Regions from separate parts of the Homo sapiens genome. Here region 2 is linked to region 1. Evidence: promoter capture Hi-C in 16 types of primary human blood cells and fetal thymus (Javierre and others, 2016). All regions are on one chromosome and are shown on one strand. Each heading gives the region's core, a stretch centred on a gene start or on the middle of the fragment in contact. The rest is flanking DNA. Distances are from core to core; before and after follow the strand shown. Region 1 holds the start of MED28 (mediator complex subunit 28). Region 2 overlaps LOC105374510 (a long non-coding RNA gene).

Region 1 (5,633 bases), core at 29-2,528:
CTGAATAATCGCTTGCAAATTATATTCATTTACCACTGTGCTATTAGATACAATACAAAAGTCACAAAGTTGGGATTTTTATTTATTTATATTTTATTTTACTTTTTTGAGACGGAGTCGAGCTCTTGTCACCCACGCTGGAGTGCAATGGCGCGGTCTCCGCTCACTGCAACCTCCGCATCCCAGGTTCAAGCGATTCTCCTGCCTCAGCCTCTCGAGTACCTGGGATTACAGGCGCACGCCACCACGCCTGGCTAATTTTTGTATTTTTAGTAGAGTCAGGGTTTCACCATGTTGGTCAGGCTGGTCTCGAACTCCTGACCTCATGATCCGCCAGCCTCGGCCTCCCAAAGTGCTGGGATTACAGGCGTGAGCCACCGCGCCCGGCAAAACTGGGATTTAAAATGTGGAAAAGTTAACTCCAATTTGAACGTACATTACTTTATTACTACACAGGAATAGCTCATCTTCCACTTTAAAGACTACTGGAAATCACCAGAGCACTTATTTTCACCTCTCTATCTTCCCTCAATATACAGTTCACCTTTCTTGCTACAAGGTAAACTCCTTGGGCAAAACTGAGAGATTGGGTCACCTGTGCCTCCCTCCCTCCCTAACCTCCAGCATTCCTCCTTCCTCAGCTCTTAGTACCAAGCTGCGCCTGGTAACTTAAGTCAATTTCCGCTCTTAAGAGTCCCTTTAGGATCGTTTAAAGGTGAAGCCCAGCGGAAAGGATACAGGATACAGCAGTGAAACTCTCAGCTCCGAAAAGGCTTGAGCCTCTTACTAAACATGCAGGGATGCAAGAAACGGTGCTCGGGGATGAGACTAAGGACCGGCTGGGAATCTGGAAGGGTTCCAAGTTTGGGGTTTAGGCAAACTTCGGGTTCACGTTTCCACAAACGTCGAGTTTACGCGCCCCCGCCAGCAGACCTGAATTGAATACGGGCCACGGGGAAGCCTAAAGCAAGTGACTTACTTTAAGCCTCAGTTTCCCCATTTGTGAATTAGTTGCTCGGATCCCTGGAGGAGATACGCGTACGCGCAGTTCACGTTTCAGAAAAAAGGGAAGGCTAGGGACAAAGACGCCCATGTCTTATATTACCTCGAAAGATGACTCCAACTCGTCCACCAAAGTACTGCTGGAAGGTCTAGGAGCGCCTGGAGCTGCCTGAAGAAGCGAAGCTTGGCCCGGAAGGCCCGGCGGGGCCTGAGGGGGACCGGGTGGCTGCCCAGAAAACATACCCCCTAGTGGAGCCGCCATGTTTGGAATGGCGCAAGAGAGATCCACTGCGCCTGCGCGGAAGCCGGCTCAGAAGCTCACGTGGCTGGTGTAGTAGGCGTGGTCACGTGACAGGACCGAGCGATGGGAGGATTCTGGTGCACCCCGGAAGGAGGATTTTTAATTCTTCTGTTTTCTTGTCTATCGCAAAACAGAGTTTACATGTATTTTCCTTTTTTCTTAGCTTAAGAATTGAAGACTTTGGCCGGATTAGACCTGGTTGTGTGGAGAGGAGAATTAATAACTACAGTGGAGCGAGCCCTCCTGCGAGAGTCAGGATACTACTATGCTAGTCCCGACTCTGCCCCAAATGCCTGGAGAGACTTTGGCTAAGTCACTTTTTCTTTCCGCGGGCTGTTTACCGTTGGTAAAAGGAGAGGGTCACCCACTCACTCCACAAACATTTGTTGAGTCATTGGTTATAGCGGGAACAAGACAGGCAAAGTTCTTCCTGAATTCTGGTCGGAGATGGATAACGGAAACAACTTTGTTGAGGTTCCCAATGTGCCCGGCACTGATGTCTTTAAATATTTATGGTTACATCAAAGAGAAAGTCACTATGCTAATCTTTTTTTTTCTTTCTTTTCTTTTTTCTCAGGGTCTCGTTCTGTCGCCCTGGCCGGAGTGCAGTGTCATGATCAGGGCTCGACCTCCCGGGCTCAAACAATCCCCCTACTTCAGCCACCCAAGTAGCTAGGACCACAGGTGCGTGCAGTCGCGACGGGCTTTTTTTTTTTTTTTTTTTTTTTTTTTTAGTTGAGTCAGGTGTTTTACTGAGCTCAAGTGATTCTACCGCCGCGGCCTCCCAAAGTGTTGGGAATACAGTAATGAGCCAAGGCGCCAGGCTGCTAATTTTTTTTTTTTGAGACAGAGTCTCGCTTTGTCGCCCAGGCTGGAGTGCAGTGGCGCGATCTTGGCTCACTGCAAGCTCCGCCTCCCGGGTTCACGCCATTCTCCTGCCTCAGCATCCCGAGTAGCTGGGACTACAGGCGCCCGCCACCACGCCCAGCTAATTTTTTGTATATTTGGTAGAGATGGGGTTTCACCGTGTTAGCCAGGATGGTCTCGATCTCCTAACCTCGTGATCCGCCCGACTCGGCCTCCCAAAGTGCTGAGATTACAGGCGTGAGCCACCGCGCCCGGCACTAGGCTGCTAATCTTGTAGTAACCTGCTTTTAACATTTGCTTATCTCTCTCTTTTTTTTTGGTGACGGAGTCTCGCTCTGTCGCCCAGGCTGGAATGCAGTGGCGCGATCTCGGCTCACTGAAACCTCCGCCTCCTGGGTTCAAGCAATTCTCCTGCCTCAGCCTTCCGAGTAGCTGGGACTACAGGCGCCCGCCGCTCGGCTAGTTTTTCTGTATTTTAGTAGCGCCGGGGTTTCACCTTGTTGCCCAGGCTGGTCTCGAACTCCTGAGCTCAGACAATCCGCCCGCCTCGGTCTTCCAAAGTGCTAGGATTACAGGCGTGAGCCACCGTGCCCAACCTTCTTATTTATCTCTTTAAAACCAAATAACTTTTTTTCATTATATCTGATTTTACAGTTATTACCCAGCACACTTACTGAGCGCTCCACTTCCCAGGCACTATTTAATGATCTGGAGGTTATAGCAATCATCCCAAATCTCTGGAAGGAGACAGACAAGCACATAAATACATAGCAATATTGTGCAGAGAGAAGAGCTGGGAAGGAAAATGAAACCCAGTAAGGGGATGGCTAGTGAGAGGGGTGTTCTTTGAGATAGGTGATTGGAGGAGGCCTCTCCAAGGAGATCTGGACTGTAGTGACTGGCATGAAAATTTAACTAGGAGTGCTTTCTACACCGAAGGATCCCTGAAGAAGCAGCCTGCCTGGGATGTTTAAGGAACCACAGGAAGCTCATTGCCAGAGGAGTGAGCCAGGGCAGAAATGTTCAGAGAAAAAGCAGGAGCTTCCCTTTGCCAACCAGGCTCGGATCAAGTCATCTTCCCAGCCTCAGTTTCACTTAGATCCCCACTCCTAAGTACTTTCCCCTGTTTAATTTTCTTCACAACATTTATGTAATCTGAAATTATCTTGTTCATTTTTTCATAACTGAATCACCTGCCCTCCTCCTCCTTCTCTCTCTGTCATACACATGCCAACTAGAAAATAAGTTCCGTGCATCAGAGCCTGCCCATCTTATTCACCTGTATCCCCAGAATCTAGAATGGTGCCTGGCATAATAGATATAATAAATATGTGATGACTGAAAGAACCAGAAGAGACCGCCAGGAGGAAACAAGCCTACTCCAGCAGTTTTCAGACAGTTTTGGTCTCAAGACCCCTTTACACTCCTAAAAATTATTGAGGATCCCAAAGTTTTTGTTTATGTGGGTTAAGTCTGCTAATATTTATCTGATAAGTTAAAACTGAGAATTTTAGGCTGGAGGCAGTGGCTCATGCCTGTAATCCCAGCACTTTGGGAGGCCGAGGCAGCCGGATCACAAGGTCAGGAGATCAAGACCATCCTGGCTAACATGGTGAAACCCCATCTCTACTAAAAATACAAAAAATTAGCCAGGCGTTGTGGCGGGCGCCTGTAGTCCCAGTTACTTGGGAGGCTGAGGCCGGAGAATGGGGTGAACCCAGGAGGCAGAGCTTGCAGTGAGCCGAGATCATGCCACTACACTGCAGCCTGGTTGAGAGCAAGACTCCGTCTCAAAAAAAACAAAAACAGAATTTTAAAAATCAATTCATTAAAAAATAATTCATTAAATGTTAACAAAAACAATCTTTATTAAAACTAATACTCTATTTTCTAAAATAAGGAATAAGTAAAAAGTATGGCATCATTTTACTTTTTTGCAAATCTCTCTCTATATATATATATTTTTTTTGAGACAGGGTCTTACTCTGTTGCCCAGGCTGCAGTGCAGTTTCACAATTACAGCTCACCATAACTTCCGCCTCCCAGGCTCCAGCAATTCTCCCAATCAGCCTCCCAAGTAGCTGGAACTACAGGCATGTGCCAACACACCTGGCTAATTTTTTGTAGAGATGGGGTCTTGCCATGTTGCCCAGGCTGGTCTTGAACTCCTGGGCTCAAGCAGTCCACCTACCTCGGCCTCCCAAAGTGCTGGAATTATAGGAGTGAGCCACCGTGCCCAGCCTTTCAAGTCTCATTAATATCCAGTTTACCTAACCTCATTGTAAATTTCCTGCGAACATGGTCAGTGGTATTTCTCTTGCAGTCCTCCTAGAGTACTGCACAAAAAAGCACTAACATTTTTTGGATTTTGCTGAAAACCCATCACTTCATTTATAAGATGAGAGAACACTGCCTTAGAAAAATTACTAAGAACAAGATAATCTATGTAGAGGTTTAATACTGTGCCTTGCATAAACTAAGTTGCTAAGGAGTGACACGATGTAACTCCTATTTTTAATTTTTAGAGATAAGGTCTCACTATGTTGCCCAGGCTAATCTTGAGCTCCTGGCCTCAAGTGATCCTCCCACCTTGGCCTCCCAAAATTCTGAGAATACAGGCATGAGCCACTGGGCCCGGCCTGATTTATGTTTTAAAATAATCTTTCTAGTCATACAGATAACAGGAGAACAAGTGGAGAAGGCAGGGAGACCAGTGAAAGAGAGTAATCTAGGAGTGCAGAGAGGATGGTGACTTGTACCAGGGCAGTTGAGACAGCGGTGGTGAGACTTGGGTCAAATAAACATGATTTGTTTAACAACCAACTGGTTGGGAATGGAATGTTAGTATGATTTGAATGTACCTTTTTTTGTTTTGAGAGGGAATCACGCCCTGTCACCCAGGTTGGTTTTGGAGTGCAGTGGTGCAATGTTGGCTCACTACAACCTCTGCCTCCCGGGTTCAAGTGATTTCTCCTGCCTCAGCCTCCCAAGTAGCTGGGACTACAGGCACATGCCACCACACCCAGCTAGTTTTTGTATTTTTAGGAGACACAGGGTTCGTGAAGTTCCTGGCAGCTAGATGTACATTCAGTGACAACTATTAAATTTCATCTCAGCCAGGCACGGTGGCTCACATCTGTAATCCCAGCACTTTGGGAGGCCTATACAGGTGGATCACTTGAGGCCAGGAGTTCGAGACCAGCCTGGGCAACATGGCAAAACCCATCTCTACTAAAAATACAGAAACTAGCTGGGCGTGGTGGTGTGCACCTGTAGTCCTAGCTACCTGGGAGGCTGAGGCATGAGAATCGCTTGAACCTGGGAGGCAGAGGTTGCAGTCAGTTGAGATCGTGCTACTGCACTCCAGCCTGGGTGAGAGAATGAGATTGTCTCAAAAAAAAAAATTTCATCTCAACCAGATTAGGTAAGCCACATGAAACCAGGGCCTGTGCTATGCTTTTTG
Region 2 (5,842 bases), core at 1,738-4,237, 980 kb before region 1:
AAGCTACCAATGACTTTCTTCACAGAATTGGAAAAAACTACTTTAAAGTTCATATGGAACCAAAAAAGAGCCTGCATCGCCAAGTCAATCCTAAGCCAAAAGAACAAAGTTGGACGCATCACGCTACCTGACTTCAAACTATACTACAAGGCTACAGTAACCAAAACAGCATGGTACTGGTACAAAAACAGAGATACAGACCAATGGAACAGAACACAGCCCTCAGAAATAATGCCGCATATCTACAACCATCTGATCTTTGACAAACCTGACAAAAATAAGAAATGGGGAAACAATTCCCTATTTAATAAATGGTGCTGGGAAAACTGGCTAGCCATATGGAGAAAGCTGAAACTGGATCCCTTCCTTACACCTTATACAAAAATTAATTTAAGATGGATTAAAGACTTACATGTTAGACCTAAAGCCATAAAAACCCTAGAAGAATACTTAGGCAATACCATTCAGGACATAGGCATGGGCAAGGACTTCATGTCTAAAATACCAAAAGCAATGGCAACAAAAGCCAAAATTGACAAATGGGATCTAATTAAACTAAAGAGCTTCTGCACAGCAAAAGAAACTACCACCAGAGTGAAAAGGCAACCTACAGAACGGGAAAAAATTTTTGCAACCTACTCATCTGACAAAGGGCTAATATCCAGAATCTACAATGAACTCAAACAAATTTACAAGAAAAAAACAAACAACCCCATCAAAAAGTGGGTGAAGGATATGAACAGACACTTCTCAAAAGAAGACATTTATGTAGCCAAAAGACACATGAAAAAATGCTCACCATCACTGGCCATCAGAGAAATGCAAATCAAAACCACAATGAGATACCATCTCACACCAGTTAGAATGGTGATCATTAAAATGTCAGGAAACAACAGGTGCTGGAGAGGATGTGGAGAAATAGGAACACTTTTACACTGTTAGTGGGACTGTAAACTAGTTCGACCATTGTGGAAGTCAGTGTGGCGATTCCTCAGGGATCTAGAACTAGAAATACCATTTGACCCAGCAATCCCATTACTGGGTATATACCCAAAGGATTATAAATCATGCTGCTATAAAGACACAAGCACACGTATGTTTATTGCAGCACTATTCAATAGCAAAGACTTGGAAGCAACCCAAATGTCCATCAATGATAGACTGGATTAAGCAAATGTGGCACATATACACCATGGAATACTATGCAGCCATAAAAAAAGATGAGTTCATGTCCTTTGTAGGGACATGGATGAAGCTGGAAACCATCATTCTCAGCAAACTATCACAGGGACAAAAAACCAAACACCGCATGTTCTCACTCATAGGTGGGAATTGAACAATGAGAACACATGGACACAGGAAGGGGAACATCACACATCAGGGCCTGTTGTGGGGTGGGGGGAAGGGGGAAGGATAGCATTAGGAGATATACCTAATGTTAAATAACTAGTTAATGGGTGCAGCACACCACCATGGCACATGTATATATATGTAACTAACCTGTACATTGTGCACATGTACCCTAAAACTTAAAGTATAATAATAATAAAAAAGAAATATACTCACACACACACACAAAAACAGAAGAAAAATACTTGTCCCCAATGATGTATATCTCTATAATGACTGGAATTCTCATTTCTCCATCATTTTTTCTTCAGACACAGCTGAATAAAAACTCAGATATTTTTGTTCTTGATGAAGATCCAATTCGACCACTTCTTTTATGTATATTTCTCCCTTCTTTCCTCCATCCTCTCCTCCTTTCCTTCCTTCCTTTCCTGCTTGTTTCTTCCCTGTTTCCATTTATCCATCCATTTTATAAACATTGATTTTAGAGCCTATTATACATCAGAAACTATGTAGAAATGTGACCATAAGTTGCGTTCTATCTGGGTCGGATAATTAAGAAGCAGGTAAAATGCAGTGTAGTTAATTCTCAGGTAGAAGTGGGAGTGGAATATTACGGGACTAGAGTGAAGGACCATCATCCAGTCCGGGCTGGGTAGAAAACACCTTACAGACAGGCTCAGCATAGAGACTAGAAATCCTGGGCAGAGACTGCAGGAAACAGCCCAGGGCAAGTGGGTATATTTCATCCGCCACAAAACAGCCACCTAATCTGACTGATCCCTAAAAATATATACTTTTTGAACAACATAAGTAATACACAAATGCGTTTTTAGTATACAAATTCAATCAAAAACTCAGAATATGCAAGAACAGTTTTAAAGTTCATGTTTTCTTCACTGGAGCCCTTTCAATCTTTTCACTTATAATAATTTTTAACTATATGGCTATGTAGACGTTCATAAGTTTTCTAAGTATATACATACATACACACATATTGTCTATATATATATGTGTGTGTATATATATATGTATATATATATATATATATACACACACACACACACACACACACACCACATTGTCTGTATAAATAATAAAAAAGTTGGCCAGGTGCGGTGGGTCACACCTGTAACCCCAGCACTTTAGGAGGCTGAGGCAGGCGGATCATGATGTCAGAAGATCCAGACCATCCTGGGCAACATGGTGAAACCCCGTATCTACTAAAAATACAAAAATTAGCTGGGTGTGGTGGCGCGCACCTGTAGTCCCAGCTATTTGGTAGGCTGAGACAGGAGAATCGCTTGAACCCGGGAAGCAGAGGTTGCAGCAAGCCGAGATCACGCCACTGCATTCCAGCCTGGTGACAGAGTGAGACTCCATCTCAACAACAACAACAAAAAGCTTTCTAAATATATACATACATTATATATAAATAATAGAAAGGAAGTTAGATATATAGTGATATATGTATACATAGGCATACATTATATATGTGTATATGTACACATATATATGACTATACATATTCTGTAACTTCCTTTTTTATTGAAAATATCTTGGAATGCTTACATGGCCTATGCAGATATCATTCTTTTAAATACCTAAAGAGTATCATTTTTTGCATAGAAGTGATATGTATTCACGCATTTATAGTAAGAAAAACACCATTAACACTGAAAAATGTAAATCAAGGTTTCCCCAATCCTCCCCAAACTATTCATTCCTATCTTCATTCTTCATAGCTAATCTCTCTTAAGTCTTTGTATATTCTCCCAGAAATATTGTGTGTGTGTGTGTGTGTGTGTGTGTGTGTGTGTATGTGTGTGTGTGTGTGAGAGAGAGTATTCTCCATTTTTCCATAAGCTTAAAGCCAAGCTGTTCTCTGGTACCCAGGAGGACACAGGTTTTCCCTTTCCTGTGCTGCTTCTCCACCTGGCAAGATCTGTGTGTGAGGTGTATGGAGGTGGATCAGCTGTTCATCAAGCCATACTCAAGAATGTTCTGTTCAATGTAATGAGACCTCTGTAAATGCCAGTGTGAGAGGAATTATATTTCTGATGTGGAACATTCTTTTAATGGAGAAATGGGCTATGGGAAAAAGCAGAACATGCTCTTATTTCAAACATTGGGGAGAGAGATGGAAAATTTTTCTTGTAAATTATTCGCTATGTTAAACTAAGTCATTCAGAAAATGCATTTTAATAGGGCACATAAAATCAACAGGATCAGCAGGTAGAGCATCTATTTAAATTGCCACCTGCCACAAAGAAGCTAACACTGTATTCTCCAGCTGAAGATATTCAATTGTGTATGCTTTAGGGGTATGGGTGATTCTAGCTCCTGGTTGCATTATAATTTATAATAAATGAGGCATGAATTTATAGGGATTATTTATTTACTTTGAAGCAAATCTGTGATCCATGAATGACCCTATTACCAGTTAATAGGAGGAAAGAATTACTTGTTATTGGAATGAAATAAGAATAAGATCTAAACATGTAACATGCTTGACACGCATAGAGTCTTCAAAATATCTCCCCAAAAGGTTCATGTCAATAACATTCACCATAGGATACACAAAATATGAGCTCATTATCCATATATGAGAGAGGGAATAATGGATGTCTTCATATCTGACTTGTCCAATTTTACCTAAAATACTAGTGAGCAAGTGGGAACCAGGACACAGATCTTCTAATTCAGCCAAGCATAATTTTCGCCATAAAGATTCTTAAGTCTGTATTCAAATAATAATCATGCAAACTAATATTGGTGTAGCATTTTACATTTTAAAAAAGCAATTTTTCAGCAAACAATCAACATAATATCTTAGTTAAAAATGGTTGGGAGGCCGAGGTGGGCGGATCACAAGGTCAAGAGATCGAGACCATCCTGGCCAACATGGTGAAACCCCGTCTCTACTAAAAATACAAAAATTAGCTGGGCGTGGTGGCGTGTGCCTGTAGTCCCAGCTGTTCGGGAGGCTGAGGCAGGAGAATGGCTTGAACCCAGGAGGTGGAGGTTGCAGGGAGCCGAGATCGCACCACTGCACTCCTGCTTGGCGACAGAGCGAGACTCCATCTCAAAAGAAAAAAAAAAAGGTAATATTCACAGCATTTCTTCAGAACAATAAACTATGGACCAAGGAAATGAAAAAACTTGTTTCAGATCATACCCCTAAAAAGTGGCAGCATTCAAATAGCAGCACTTTGGTTAGCAAATCCCACTTTTCTCCCCGAAATTTTATGACACCATTACATCTAGAGTTGCGATGCATATATTACTGTATCTCCCTTACCTTATGAAATAGGGAAGCATGGAGATTCTCATCCTTATTTCCTAGAACAGAAACTTCAAAGTACCAATGATTTAAAGTTACAGTCACGCTAATGGGAGGATTAGCAGTTAGCACCCAATCAAGTACACTCAGCCCCTTTATGTGAGACAACCGTTTACCTAAACAATCACGATAGTTTGTGACTATCGTGAAACAATCCCAGTCGAAGAAGCGCAATGCTTCTGTCCCATTAATGTTAAGGAAAATCCTCTTCGACTGAAGGATTTGGGCGAGGTTTTCTCAGTTTGACCACATGGTGGCAGTATTACCATGCATTGAAAGACTTCCAGCCCCAGCAGTTCAGAATAAGAGTGCGCTGCCAATTGGCTCAGAAAAACATCCTTTTGTGTCCTCTTTGACTTCGAGATGTGCAAAAAAAGATAGCAAGCTGTGTGGTCTCTGAATAGAGAGCTCTGTTTCTTCTTTCCAGCTTACTAGAAGGATATGGGTGCCGAGTGAGAGGCAATACTACAGCAGCCTAATGAGCCAATTATTTTGTTTGGCACAAATATCACTAGGGACTTAGAGAAAGGTGCTTTCATACAAGAAGGAAAGCAAAACACAACTAACAACTACAATTTCAGGCAAATCATGGACTTAAAACGTGTCCCTGAGTTTAAGTTTTATTATCTTGTCTCTTTATGTGACTTTCCAACAAGGAGCAAAGAAATATTTGGTTTGGCATTTTTCATTTTTATTGGTGACTTCTTCAAATTGACACAAGTTGTATTTGTCTAGCAATAAATCCACAGTGCAGCCTGCTTGCCAATCTATGCATTCAAAATATTTCATCTTGATTATATATATCAGGTGCACCAAAGGGACTATCTCATTTAATCTTAAAGTAATTGTGTATAATAGGTGTCATTATTTTCATTTTACACAGGAAGAAAGTAAAGTAAAAAAAAAAATAAACTAACTTCAGCTCCCAAAGACAGTAAATACACAGAATCTGAACAATCTAATGCATAAACCCACAATTTTCCTCCCCATCACACTCATTTTACATTCAAAATAATTTCTCTCCCATTAAAAATTATTTTTTTATTATTCAAATGTATTTTTAAATTTTTAAGTAGAGAAGTTTCAAGAAAGAAACAAAAAATCATGCAGGCTTTTTTTTTTTTTTTTTTTTTTGACTGAGTCTCATTC

What was found. Contacts are between HindIII fragments. The CHiCAGO score rates a contact against its expected background, and 5 or more counts as called.
Region 2: a contact is called between a fragment that was not itself captured here and the fragment with the promoter of MED28 in region 1, in 4 of 17 cell types (endothelial precursors, total CD8 T cells, naive B cells and 1 more). The highest score is 7.5, in endothelial precursors.

Annotation. Positions count from the first base shown.
Region 1 is chr4:17,610,286-17,615,918 of GRCh38, reverse strand. MED28 (mediator complex subunit 28) reads right to left here and starts at 1,278. Exons shown (of 4, transcript NM_025205.5): 1 at 1,106-1,278. The coding sequence starts at 1,264. It overlaps MED28-DT (MED28 divergent transcript), which reads left to right and starts at 1,339. Exons shown (of 3, transcript NR_186331.1): 1 at 1,339-1,777; 2 at 1,881-1,987. RefSeq lists enhancers at 1,129-1,238, 1,339-1,628, 734-1,933. The HindIII fragment of the contact is 7,436 bases long and covers 1,188-5,633 here.
Region 2 is chr4:18,592,840-18,598,681 of GRCh38, reverse strand. All of the region lies in intron 1 of LOC105374510 (a long non-coding RNA gene), which reads right to left. Among named protein-coding and RNA genes, the nearest start is that of LCORL, 570 kb to the right of the region's middle. The HindIII fragment of the contact is 462 bases long and covers 2,757-3,218 here.